3 separate regions of the Homo sapiens genome follow, and regions 1 and 2 are each linked to region 3. The links are contacts of gene promoters, found by promoter capture Hi-C in blood cells and fetal thymus (Javierre and others, 2016). All regions are on one chromosome and are shown on one strand. Each heading gives the region's core, a stretch centred on a gene start or on the middle of the fragment in contact. The rest is flanking DNA. Distances are from core to core; before and after follow the strand shown.

Region 1 (4,385 bases), core at 871-3,370, 3.1 Mb before region 3:
AATTGCCAATTTCAGTTTAAAGTGTTCTTACCCTACCAGTACTAGTTCCGGCTGTGAACTTCCATTCCTGGGCTTTGGCTCTGATAAGCTGTGACTCCCTGTATCTGCCCATCTATTGCTCTAGTTTTCAGGGTAGCAGTTTGCCCTGTGACTTCAATTCTCTGATGTACTTAAGAGTAACAAACCTGCACGTTGTGCACATGTACCCTAGAACTTAAAGTATAATAAAATAAAATATATATATAAAAAAAAGAAGAGTTGTTGATTTTCAGTTCGTTCAGCTTTTCTCTTGCTATGAGGATGGGGGTGATGACTTCCAAGCTTCTTACAAGTCAGACTGGAAACGGACTTTTTTACACATGGAAGAAGAAGAAGAAAAAGAAAATAAGTTGCACTCTGTATTGGTTGAAATTCTTTTAAAAGCAGAGCCTGAGGCAAGAACTTGCTGCAAGTAGTTAATATGAAAAGTGATCCCTGAGGGCAGGAGTGAGAGATTGGTAAAGTGAATCAGGAACAGGAGAAAAGTTCATTTACAGAGTATAGCTTTGGCCTGCTTGTTTCCTGACATTGGCCTGATATGGGGGTGATTAAACACTCTGCATATGTAGGGTACCTATGTTCACCACAGCCTTGGAACAGAGCAGAAAAAGTCCTGCCTCTGATTTTAAGACCATTTGTGCTGAAATAGAGGAGGTGGCTGTCAAGAATAGGAGTCGGGGTCTCTATTTGCAGTGGTCTCAACTGGTCACCTCTCCAGGGCTTAGCTTTCATTAAGCTCACAGACATTCTTTCTACTAAAAAATATCCAAATGATTGTCTGTTGAGGCAAATTCCACATCTGAACAATGGGCCTCAAGAGGCCTGAGGCCCAGCAGATTTTCACAGAAGCTGTGAAACAAACGGCCCCTTTGGAAACTTGTAAGTTTTTATTTTAGTTCTTTTGATTTTATACATTTCTTCTTGCTATTTCTCAGAGGTTACCTTTAATCTAATCTTTGCCCTCCTGAATGGTGTTCTTAGCAGGCTTAGCCCCTAGGCCTGAGTAGCAGTTGGCTCTGGGTGTCACACTTCATTTTACTTCTTGTTTCACCTTTTACAGAGCAGTTGGCCACCAAGACAGAGGTTGGACAAGTGTCCTGGGGTAAGAGCTGGCCTTGCCAGCCAAGTGCCATAGACGTTCATCTCTTTCAGTCAGATACCCACCAATTCTTATCACTCTTGTCTAGCCTCCTTTCTTCCCAAGCCTAAAATGTCCCCAAGAAGAACATATTTCTATGTGTTAAGTTTTGTGCTAGCCCTATTTGTGATGGGTCATATGATATTCCAAAAATGGGTACATGCCTAAGGTTCCAAAAACTGAACTTAAGCCTTGATTAACCCAAATCTATCTTGACTTCAGTTTTTGTAATTTGTTGGACTATTGCAGAAATGGCAAAAATGTTTCATATACCAATCAGTTTCTAGTGGCTGCCTAGAAAGCTGTGATGAGGGAAATTCTTAAGTAACACCCAGACCCCGAGGGAAAGGTGAGAAGGTTGATTGGCAATGTCTGTCTTACACAAGAAAAGGGGAGAGACATTGTTTGCCATCCCAGGATTATAAGACCTTGTAGATTCATTTCAGCTCTGAACGGTTAAGAATCTAAATTTTGCTATGCCCCGCTTCTTCAGAATTCATCAGTTTTTTTTTTTTTCCAGCTGTCTCTTAGCAGTTGTTTAACCAATCTGGGATAAACCGTCAACAGTTGAAAGCTCGAAGGTTGCAACTATCACATCGCATTCCTTGGGTAAGTCATTTTCTTCACTGGGTCTCAGTGAAATTGGAGGGGCTGTCACAAGATATCTAAGGTCTCTTTCAATGACCAAGTCCCACAATTCTATTATTCTGGAGTTACAATGCCTTGGTGAAAACAAACAAACAAACAAACAAACCACCCACCAAGTGGCTTAAGTACACTGTAGGGTTGCAGAAGGGGCTGTATTTTCTTCTTTTCCTTCTCTTTCTTTTTCCGTTCCTTCTTGGTAATGAGGAAGGTAGGTAGTGGGCTTCATCCAGCCCTCAAATCTCAAAGTGATACTGTAAAATATATATTTGATCATTGACTCCATTTCCTGGCATACAACTCTTAAAATCCTTAGAATCTCTGAAGAGATCTTTTTGTATGCTAATGAAATGACAGGTGGCCGGCAGCTCCTAGGTCGCTTCAGGATGAGAGCTGGTCGCCAGAAAGTTCCAGGCAGAATTAGAGTGTTGGGACTTTCAGTCTCATCCCCTAATCTCTAAGGCTGAAGACTAAGTTCATCACCAGTGGTCATAGTTTAATCAATCATGCCTGCGTAATGAAGTCTCCATAAAAGCTCCAAATGGACAGGGTTCAGACAGCTTCAGGATAGCCCAACACAAGGAGGCTCCTGGAGGATAGTGTGCCCAGGGTGGGCTTCCATGCCCCTTCCCATACCTTTCCGTATGCATCTCTTCATCTGTATCGCCTTTAATACCTTTATAATAAACTGGCACACATAAGTAAGTGTTCTTCTGAGTTCCATGAGCCACTCCAGCAAATTAATCGAACTTAAGGAGGGAATCCTAATGTATAACCAGTTGGTCAGAAGCACAGGTAAAATAACATGGGGCTTTCAACTGGCCCCAAGCCCCAGCCTGAAGTTGTAGGGGAACAGTCTTGTGGACTGGGCCCTCCACCCTTGGGATCTCATGCTGGGTTGGGGTAGATAGTATTAGAACTGAATTGAATAAGAGGTCATCTAGTTGGTGTCCTCTGCAGAATTAAGTGACTGCTTGCTTGGTGAGGAAACTCCCCACATATTAGGTTAGAAGTCTTTTGTGTTGATTGCTACTGAGTGACAGAATAGAAAAAGCACTTTGAGTGTGTTTCTTCAACACATGTTACCCTTAATCTTCCTGCTGAACCCCCATGCAAAGGACCAGGCTGACCTGAACAATTGGGTATATCAAAGGGCACACATGAAGAAGAGGCAGAAGGAAATCATGAAGGCATGCAATGCGCCGGATCAAGCTACCTTTTGGGAAAAACAGAGCATTTGAGGTGTCAGGGGTAAGGGGACTCTCTGAAGGTACACTCTGAAGATACAGAATAAGTAGAGTGGACTTGGGATCCTAAACCCAGCGGAAAGTGAAGAGAAAGGGTAGAGAAATGATTTATGCATGGGTGGAGCAAGAGAGCAGAACTTGAAGCCAGGCCCTGTATTGGCACTAATTTGCTGTGTGACCTTAGGCAAGAGACCTTATTCCTCTGGGTCTCAGTTTTCTTTTCTCTTTTTTTTTTTTTTTTTTTTGAGACGGAGTTATGCTCTTGTCACTCAGGCTGGAGCGCAATGGCATGACCTCGGCTAACTGCAACCTCTGCCTCCTGGGTTCAGGCAATTCCCCTGCCCTGGCCTCCCAAGTAGCTGGGATTACAGGCATGCGCCATCATGCCTGGCTGACTTTGTAATTTTTAAAGTAGAGATGGGGTTTCATCATGTTGGTCAGGTGGTCTCAAACTCCTGACCTCAAGTGATCTACCCTCCTTGGCCTCCCGAAGTGCTGAGATCACAGGCGTGAGCCACGGTGCCCAGCCTCAGTTTTCTCGTGTATAAAAATTAAAGGGAAAAGGGATAAGTTGATTTCTAAGGGTTTTCCCAACTCTAACATCCTGTGGATCCAATTACAAGTTCTTAGAGCTTCCTATATCATGTGTATAGACACAGGTATCCAGGAAGGGAAGGAAAGAGAGAGGGTGTCTCTGAGTCGCTGACAGGGCACATGGAAGCCTAGAAAACCCAGGAAGACTGAGGCTGATCCTGTCTCAGACACAGAAGCTGTAGCGGGTGTTCTAAAGACCTAAGTAAGCATCCTGCTTGTCCTATCTCCCCTATTTGAATTTAAGCCCCAGGAGGACAAAGCTTACTCTCTGGAATCTCCGCGTTTTAGACTTACAAGTGTCTTTAAAGGTCATCTCATCTCAATCCCTTACCCCAAAATGGGAATTCTCTGTATCCTACCACTGAAAGACGGCCCCCACACCTGTGCGTATTTGCCCTTCCACATAATTTACAGAGTGGAGGGCAGAGTTTGATAATCCCTTCATGCAGCTGACCTCCTGCCTCAGGACCCAGGAAATCTCCCTACGGTTCCTCTGACACTGGCTCCAGTGTGCCAGCCTGGAACCTGAAATGCCATTCTCAGCTTCTCTTCAGGGAGTGAGGTGGGCGGACACATGGCAGGTTTTGGAGTCACACAGACCCGGGTTCAAGTCTCACTTCCACTGCTCGTTAACTGAGGGGATTTGGACAAAGTACCCCAGCTTTCTGTGCAGTTAACCTGCAAAACTCCAAGAATAATCCTTCGCGGGACTGGTGAGGATA
Region 2 (4,754 bases), core at 1,045-3,544, 3.9 Mb before region 3:
ATTCCAGGATCTGGGTGCTGCTTATGAGGTGAGTTGGGAAAAGTGATAAAGTACGAATAAAATCTGTAGCTCTAGAAAAAACATACAATACAGAGAAACACTCCTTTCAGCTCACATTTATTTATTTATTTATTTATTTTGAGACTGAGTCTCTATTGCCTAGGCTGGAGTGCAGTGGTGCAATCTCCGCTCACTGCAACGTCCACCTCCTGGGTTCAAGCAGTTCTCCCGCCTCAGCCTCCCAAGTAGCTGGGATTACAGGTGCATGCCACCACACCTGGCTAATTTTTGTATTTTTAGTAGAGACAGGGTTTCACCCTGTTGGCCAGGCTAGTCTTGAACTTATTATAGATTAATAAGTAGATCAACTGATTGGTCTGTCGTTCAATCAGTTTGGGAGCTAGAACCAAAAATAAAAAGAAAGCCTTCATGAGAGTTGCAAACCTGCATGTTCATATGAACTAGACAAATAACATGCAGGGCAGGTATAAGTTAAAACATGGCAGCAGATATTCTGCCTCCATATTGGGAAGCAATAAGGATTGTTGAGGACTTTGACAAACTGAAGCCTTCTGGCCCCATTTCAAGGGAGCAGCTGTTACTCAACCCCAGCCAGTTTTTGTCATACAAATGCAAACAGTATGTTCCTGGATGATTTAATTTTTCAAGAAAAGTTGAAAATCTAGATTTTTTATATGAGTTCTGCTTGTAAAAGTGTTGGTAACTAATTCAGTTAAATTTCTTTTTTACATAAATCAAACAGAGCACAGTTTTAATTTGATTTTGCAACCTCTAATCTGGGGATCAAAACACTCTCATGTGTATCATCTCATTTAATCTTCACTAGGACACCAGGAAATATATTAGAGCTAGGCATATTTTTATTCTCATTTTCTAAATGGACACAGAAAAAAATTAATTGAACTAAAAGTCATAGAGCTAAAACTCCTGAATTTAAGTTTAAATTCTTGTATATTGAGAAGGCTAAAAACAAATTGAAAAATATTTTAGGAAGACACAAACCTTGAAAGGAAGGAATCCCAAGATCTCTAGATTAAAGAAGCAATGGAATTGAAACAGTGAGTTATACCCAGGTGAACCCAAGAGCTGTTGGGGTCCTTTCATCTTTCAACACCTTCAGGGATCCTATGGGGCAGAAATTCTTTTTTATTTTTTTTTGAGACAGAGTCTCGCTCTGTCTGCCAAGCTGGAGTAGAGTGGCACGATCTCGGCTCACTGCAAGCTCCGCCTCCTGGGTTTTACGCCATTCTCCTGCCTCAGCCTCCTGAGTAGCTGGGACTACAGCTGTGCACCACCATGCCCAGCTAATTTTTTGTATTTTTAGTAGAGACAGGGTTTCACTGTGTTACCCAGGATGGTCTCGATCTCCTGACCTCATGATCCACCCGCCTCGGCTTCCCAAAGTGCTGGGATTACAGGCATGAGCCACCGTGCCTGGCCAAGGGACAGAAATTCTTAACCTGAGGCACATCAATAAACTTGGGAAGGTTAATGGCCCATCCTAAATTATATGTAATATTTTGTTTCTTGTTGATAATATGCATTCTATATTTTGCACTGTATTTTCCATGAATAGTCCCCTTGTTTGCTAGGAACCTAATACTCAAAAACATTTTCTAGGGAAGCTGAATTTACCATGCTCTCTAAAGAATCTTCACGTTCTTTATCAATGACCTAGGCAGGCTATACAAAGGTCAGTCATGAAATCGTGGCTTATTTAACTATAACAATCCTTTTAGCCACTAGTTCAAATTTCTGTTTTCTTTTTATCATTCAAGCTTGATTGCCTTTAGTCTTAGGTAAATTAGTGTTCACAAATTAGAATCCGAGTACAGTTATGAAGAATCTTTTGTGAATACAAATTTGTTTTCTCTACAGAGCTAGGATCACTGCTGGCATTTTAATTACTTGAGAATCTGTGTATTGGTTGGCCAATCAACTAAAAACCTTTTTTCTTTTAAAATAGTTTCCAAGACCATAGAATAAAATTGCATTCCTTGATGGAAGAAAAGTGAGGAGGAAGTAAATGATAATGACTTCAAGAGTAGTTTTTAGGGGGTTATTACAGAAGCCTCTGATGTCTAAAAAGAAACTGACTTAAAACTAGTCTTTGGGGGTTTTGAAATGGTGTTTTTTATAGTCTCAAATGCAGGGTTCATTTATTTGTGAAGATCAGATCAGAGAAGTAGACTAAAAGTGAAAATATTGGAGATCCAGTTAATAATAAGGGTTTTTTTTTTTTTCAAGTTAATTGTGCCCATTTCTGCTTCCCCAAAGTACCTATTTTCTAAAGATACTTGTGAAAACATGCTTTCCTCTCCCTTTTTCTTTCATAGTGGCTGTAATCAAGTACTGTGGTCACTTCTGGAATAACCCATTTGCCTTTGCTTTTAAGAATGTTCACTCTCTTGTATACTCAATTTCTATTTATCCTTTCAAGGATATCTTAAATGTTAATACATTTTTGCCATGACTCCTTACACCTCATTTGGGCCCTAAGCCAAAAATGTGTCCTGTGTGAATATGCCTTTCTTTTAAGTCAACAAGCCCCGTCTACTTTGAACCTCTCTTTTTCTGGGCCACCATGAGTGTGGTTTTGAAATAACTCTCTCCTTCAGACTCTTGTCTAAGTAGGAGTTTATAAATATCAAAGGAAGATTTTAAAGCCATTTAATTTTCACAAGTATATATGTGCATATATATCAGATTGCTCTAAATAAAAGAGAAAGTTTTTTTTTGCATGTTGAAGGCAAATTTTGAAAAGGATGGAAGCTTATTTTGTTGTTACATTCTTTAATATACAGAGAGAAAGCATATAGTCATGATTGTGTATGTAGTTCTCTGAAACTTAAAACTTCAAGAATTATTTCAAGCAATGAAATTGACCTTGAATAACCTTCATAGAGTATTTTTACTTACTACTCTTTCTGCATTTCAAACTCAGGACATTACAAACTTAAACATATATATATATGGCAGGCAAAATTCTTCCACAAATGGATTTCTGCATATACCAAAAAATGAAAAAAGGAGGATGAAAAGATATCAGTGTAGGCCTCTCTGGAGGGCCTGTCATTTGATTTCCTTGACTTGACAATCTCCTAATACATGCGCGCGCGCGCGCGTGTGTGTGTGTGTGTGTGTGTGTCTGTGTGTGTGTGTTTTGGGTAGGGGGTGTTATAGACCTGTGGGGCCAAGTTGTTCTGAAGGCAGTATAGTGGTTAACAGCATAAGCACCAAAGTCAAACTGCATGGGAAGTAAACCTGAGGAATCCGTCTTAACTCTTTCCTGTCACCACCCTGACCTTCACAGCTGCATTGCTAATCTCAGGTATTATTTTTTAGTGACTACACGAGTTTTGAGAACTTTAAATTAAAAACATGAATGGAGCAATGTGGAATGAACAGTGCATCAAAGAATTTAGTCTTAGAGAAAATAACTTTGTAAATATGCCTTAATACAGTACATAATGGAAACTGCATTCTATTAAAATTTTAGACCCACTGTCAAAGTAAAAACAAACATAAATATGACTGTGCCTTAACTGGATATTACCAACTCATGATCTTTTCCTCCACTGGCTTTTATCCCCAGGTTCTGTCAGATAGTGAGAAACGGAAACAGTACGATACTTATGGTGAAGAAGGATTAAAAGATGGTCATCAGAGCTCCCATGGAGACATTTTTTCACAGTGAGTAATTTACCCATCTGCAAAGTGTTAGTGTCTGAGAGAGGGTCACTTAGCGATTAAAGAATTATTCTCATTCCCTAGTTCAGAAACTTTTGATGAACAGTACAATTTAGCTGATCCAAAGATCAATTATTGTCCTCCCTGTGGGAAGATAGTCTTCTATTTTCACAAAGCTTCAGGAAAGACTGATGGCACTGAAAGGACATTCCATCTAGCCAACCATATCAGTTAAATCAGTGCAGACAATTCACGGGGACATGTGTTGGAAATCAGTTCATCCTTGCCTACTTGCTACCTTGCAATCTGCAAACCACTTAATGAGCAAAATTATTGTTAGCAGAGATAGAAAAATTCCTGCTCCCATACCCAGAGCTGCCTCTCTTTCGTGCTATCAACAAGTGAGGGTGATTATAATAACCAGCATTAGGGGAAGGAATTAGGGTAGAGGACCTTTATCTCTTGCTTTCTGGGAGTGCTGGGTGGTTGGAATAATAAACACTTTCTTCCTCACTCTTTGAACCTCTCTTTATTGAGCATTTGAATTTCCACATTCCCTGATGATTACATATACTAAGAGACTTTAATCTGGGGTTTCAGGTCTGAAATTATAAACAAAAAGATGTTCGAATCTGCATTTTTATGGGGAGAGTTCATTGTTTTCTTCAGATTCTCAAAGGGTTCTGTGAACCCTTCCCCAAAAGAAGTAAGAATCACTGTTGCATATAGTAGTTACCACCATTTAGTGCTTGGTTGAGGGGCCTGGGGTGGGGGAGTAGATTTTTAGGGTCTGTAAAGATGTGTGAGTAACATGATTAGGACATCTTTTCCCCCCGCCAGGATCAATTTGGCTGGCTGAAGTGATCCCTAGGGAATACCAGAAAGAGAAACAGCTTCCCCAGCCCCCACCCTGTTCTTTCCCCTTGCCTTTATTTAAGATTCAGGGAATTCATTCACCTGAGTTGGTTGGTGGGAGAGGGAGTTATATAGTTATCATCTTCGCTATGCTAATATACAAGGCTTCTTAATAACACCAAAAATTA
Region 3 (4,776 bases), core at 330-2,829:
TCCTTATGATTGCACCTTTTTATTTTGTAAGCACTGTGTAAATGCTTCAGTGTACTATATATATATAAAAGTCTGTGCCCAGAATATATTTAAGGAATGAATAATAAATCAGAAAATGTTTTATTGTTGCTTCATACAGGTAACATTTTAAATTCTTTTGGATTATTTTCTCTTTGGTTCAGTGACAATGTTGTGAGCAGGTGCTGGGTCCCAGGTATCCTGAGATAAATAAAAATTTTGAGCAATTAATTTTCATAAGTGATGTCAAGAAGTAAAGTATCATGAACATTTCTATGGCTCCAATTACACTGATATTTCACCTTAGGAACTGAAGCTCCGCCAGGGCAGGGGCAGCCTCTGAGTTTCGTACTGCTGTGCACCTTTAGCAGCACGGGCACCTGCTGGTTTCATTTCCTTCCCACTCACCTGGGCCCTTTTCTTATTTCACATCTTTTTTCTCCTTTTCCTTAAATGCTTTCTCTGAATCTTGATTCTTGAAAATAAATTAGTAGGATTCAGTTAGGTAGGAGGAGGAGAAAAGAAGATGTGATGAGCAAGAAGATGTGCGAAGACTCGTCAGTCTGGTAGGTGGCTTTGGTTAGGGGGTTTCAGAAATGGGGACAGGTCATGAAGGGCCTTGCCAGTCAGGAAAAATCATGAGGCACTAGCAGTAGGAACACAGCAGAAGGTGCCTGAACAAGAGAGATGACTTAATGAAAGCCTTTATAACGCTTCCCGGGATATATTACAGACTACCATCTACAGTGGCAGAGGGCAGCTGAAGGAAGGCTCTTGCAAAAACTTGGGGAAATGGAAATGAATGAAGGCAAATATTTGTTTTGAGATTATTTCCTTCTATGTAACCTATTAGTTCTTTTATTCGTTCCCCATACATGTATTGAGTGCCTACTTTGTGCCAGGCACTGTGCTAGGCAATGGGTATATTACCAGTGGACAATACAGATTTAGTCTTGCTGTCATGTCCTGTTGCTTGCTCATATGAATGTCAGTTCAAGACAGCAAGAGCTCAGGACTGCGGAGATCGCATCTACATCCTGCCGCGCTCTGTGCCGGCACAGGGTGGTTGCGAAAATCGTGCAGTCTGAATTGATTCAAGGCCTTGCAGCATGATTGCTAAATACGTCGAGACAGGAAGAAAGGGCAGGGTGGCACCGATCTCAACTGCGAGAGCACGATCTTGCAATGAGCGCATGTGTGCGCCTCGGTGTGTAGTGAGGGGCGTAGCTTCCCACAGCGCCTGGCAGCGTGCCGAGCTGCGCTGCAGGACTAACCCTCTCCTTTCCCCGCGCGCTCAAGCCCGCACAGGCGGTGGCAGGGAGCCGAAGGGGCCGAGCGCAGCCTTGCATCCGTCCGCAGGCGGGCCCGGCGCCGCGCCTCCTGGCGGCGGGCGGGACCGTCCAGGACGCCGCCCCGCGGCCGCAGCTCCTGGAAGCCCAGAGCGCCGGTGGATCGCGAGCCAAGGCGGCGGGTGGAGCCTGAGCCGTGAGGCCGTGGCCAATCGCGCCGCTCCGGGGGAGGAGCCCCAAAGGGGGAAAAGAAAGTGCGGCGGAAAGTAAGAGGCTCACTGGGGAAGACTGCCGGGATCCAGGTCTCCGGGGTCCGCTTTGGCCAGAGGCGCGGAAGGAAGCAGTGCCCGGCGACACTGCACCCATCCCGGCTGCTTTTGCTGCGCCCTCTCAGCTTCCCAAGAAAGGTGAGTCTCGCGCCGCCGTGAGGGCTCAGAAGTCACCAAGCCGCAGAATCTCAGGGTAGACGGATTCTTAGAGATCCTATCGTTAAACCCTCCTACTTTACAGAAGAGGAAACTGAGGCACAGAACGAGGCAGCGGCTGGGATAGGTCATACTGCTAGTTAGGACTGGAGCCCGGATTCGAACCCAAACGTTCAGAGACCCATCTTTGCTTTGCAGGGATTTAAGTAACGCGGTTGTGGGACGTCTGCTCGTTGCCGCCCCCATCCTCAGCCCTTTGAGGGGTCTACCCTTGTTTTCCTCCTCACCGCCCCCTCCCCGCTACCACCCCCCGCCCCCATCTCCTCCTTGGTTTCTCCAGACCGCTGCTGGAAGCGCCGAGGACAGAAGGAAGCGGTGTGTCCCAGCACGCCCACTCGGTATCACGTCGCTCTCAGCGCAGAGCTGTGACAGCCTGGGAAAATGCTGCTTGCAGCCTCACTCCCTCTTCCCCTGACCTGCTTTCTCAGAAAGATGCCCCTTCAGAGGGTGTCGGACCAGCTTCTGGAGGAGCGCGGGGAGAGAGGAGCGAGGCCCGGGCGCCAGTGACCTCCTATGGTACTGTTTCTTCCCAGCCCCGGAGGAAGCGGAGCTAGTGGCCCTGTGGGGCACAGGGTGCCCCTCACTTGGGAAGAGCTGACTTCATGGAACCATAGAGCCCCTTCCCTCTTCTAAATACTGAGAGGGAGCAAGGAAGCTGAGTTAAAGAGAAAATCACAAACATAAAAGCAAACTTCGGCTGTTTCCTTTAAGAGCTAGCCCACAGCCTGTCTTCCCTCCACCTTCTGGTTGTGAAATTGTGAACCAGGGCGCCACGCGAAGCATTCTGCTGCTCTGCTGTACAGATCCCTGGTTTAGCTACTGGATGAGAAAGAGGACTTGAGTTTTGACTCCAGCTCTTCCATGTATTAGCAGTGTGAACTTGGGCAAGTTATCTCACCTTTCCGATACTGGGTTTTTCTTTTCTTTCTTTCTTCCTTTTTTTTTTTTCCAGCCAAAAAATGGAGATTTATAATGGTCACAATGAGCCCTTTGGGTAGTTGGAAGGATGAAATGGGATCATTCAAGTAGCATGTTTAGCACAGTGCCTGGCCTGGCATCTGGTTGGTTCAAAACCAATGGCAACTATTGTAAATATTGTTACATAGTAACCTTGCAGACAGTGGGTTTTCAGAAAGGTGATTTCATACCATCTTACAGAGGCATTTTAAAAAAATCTGTAAATGTGGTGTCTTTCTTCTTTTGAATTTGAGCAACTCTTTTATAATAAGAATTTTCTGAATGTTGTCCATATGTGATGTGGATCATGGATGCTTAGCTCGAAATGTAAAATTGATGTTTCTCGGTGATATGAATTTCCTACTAGTTTTTAGGTCAAACCTCAGGCCTGTGAACTGCCCTGATCTGAGACATCCTTTATTGACAAAGAGGGTCTTGAAATGGGTGAGAGGCAGAAAGACAAGAAGACAAAGTTGGAAGTTGCAGCTGTGTTACAGATTATTCTAAGCCTTCTATCCTTGCTCTCTTAGGTCAGTCGAGCAACCTTACATTTTTCATCTAGTATCAGAAAACAAACAAAATTCTCATATATTTCTTTTGGATTGTACAGAGATGCTGCTAAATGCAAACCTTTCTGGACACAAACTTGCCTTATTTAAACACGAACACACAGACATTCACATGCCCACACTAGTCTTCCTGTATTATTGGTATTTTAAAGTTAAATGGATTCCCTCCCACACCCTTAACCCTTCTCATGACAATTGATTTTATTCTGATGAACTTCATGCAATAATTTACTACTATCTACTGGCTTTGCCATGCGTCCTTAAATTGAGTGTCCAGCATTTGTAGTTGGCTGCCTCCTTCACAGGCCATAGCATTTGTATGCAGTATTGGTAAGTGCTTGAGAACAGAGTGTGATACATCTTGATGGAAGATAAGAGCCCAGTGGTGCCCACTTAAGTACCTCCCGCACCAAGCATTAGTAAAGGATGGGATCACCTGCTTCTATCAGCTTGTTCCATGTACATGCATTGTGGTGAGCTGGCTGGGATATGACTGAATGTGTGCCTGAGAGACAGGGGCCTTGTGGGGGAAAAGGAAAATGTTCAAAATAAGGTCAGATCATGAGGATGGAAGGGAGATTAAAAGCTAATTCCTTTGGTTCTGATTCTTCAAAGAAAGGTTGGTCAATTATACCCATATCTTCATACAGATTATTACTTGTTACCAAAACCATATATATGTATAGAACTTTAAAATTTCCAAAGTGCATTCTGTATATATGATACTCCTTGTTACTCACAATAGCCCTGGGAGGACATGGCAAGAATATTAATAGAGGAAGGAGCCCAGGTTTTGTGGTCAGACCTACTTGATTTCAAATTCCAGCTCTCATGCCTGAGTAGTTGGGTGATATTGAGCAGTTTATTTAATCATTTGAAGTTTCTGTTTTATCCAGTTCTAAAATGGAAAAAAAAAATGCTTACTTTAAAAATCTGTATAACGAATAAATTCAATAGAATAATGTCAAGTACATGTAGTGAATAGGTGCTCATTAAATGATATCTCTTCTTAGCTAGTCTCAATTTATTTAGAACATAACTGGAATGAGACTCAGAGAAATGAAAAGTTGCTAGAGGTCATGTGTTAGTATGTTTCAACTCTGGGAATACAGTTCACACCTTTTCATGTCTAGTTTAGGGCATTTCCCATCACACTCTGTTTCCTCGCCAATGAGATATTTAACAATTTACTTCAGTTATAAAGTTGACCTTATTTGTCTGGTTATTTCAGGATATCCTTTTTGTTGAAAAGCAGGTATTTTCTTGCAAAGAGAACAATCCTTAAGCACAGTTCTGTAGAGTTTAGTGGAGCCAACTGTCATAAGAGGGTATTTAAAGCAATGGTCTCTAAGACAACCTTCCTACTCTCCTGTGTTGGATGTAATACACCTTTGATTCCTAAGAGAAAGGGTACTAACTAAGAAGACATAAAGTACAGAATTATATCACTCTTTTCTT

What was found. The method cuts DNA at HindIII sites, captures the fragments that hold promoters and counts their contacts. A CHiCAGO score of 5 or more calls a contact.
Region 1: a contact is called between a fragment that was not itself captured here and the fragment with the promoter of IL1RAP in region 3, in 2 of 17 cell types (naive CD8 T cells and activated CD4 T cells). The highest score is 7.4, in naive CD8 T cells.
Region 2: a fragment that was not itself captured here is called in contact with the fragment with the promoter of IL1RAP in region 3 in 1 of 17 cell types (non-activated CD4 T cells); the score reaches 7.3 in non-activated CD4 T cells.

Annotation. Positions count from the first base shown.
Region 1 is chr3:187,362,371-187,366,755 of GRCh38, forward strand. No RefSeq gene overlaps it. Among named protein-coding and RNA genes, the nearest start is that of RTP4, 3.8 kb to the right of the region's middle. The HindIII fragment of the contact is 3,602 bases long and covers 320-3,921 here.
Region 2 is chr3:186,572,224-186,576,977 of GRCh38, forward strand. It overlaps DNAJB11 (DnaJ heat shock protein family (Hsp40) member B11), which reads left to right. Exons shown (of 10, transcript NM_016306.6): 2 at 1-28; 3 at 3,617-3,714. Among named protein-coding and RNA genes, the nearest start is that of DNAJB11, 3.9 kb to the left of the region's middle. The HindIII fragment of the contact is 994 bases long and covers 1,798-2,791 here.
Region 3 is chr3:190,512,506-190,517,281 of GRCh38, forward strand. IL1RAP (interleukin 1 receptor accessory protein) reads left to right here and starts at 1,580. Exons shown (of 12, transcript NM_002182.4): 1 at 1,580-1,714. RefSeq lists enhancers at 927-1,016, 1,769-2,270, 2,271-2,770 and a silencer at 1,167-1,516. The HindIII fragment of the contact is 8,413 bases long and covers 1-4,776 here.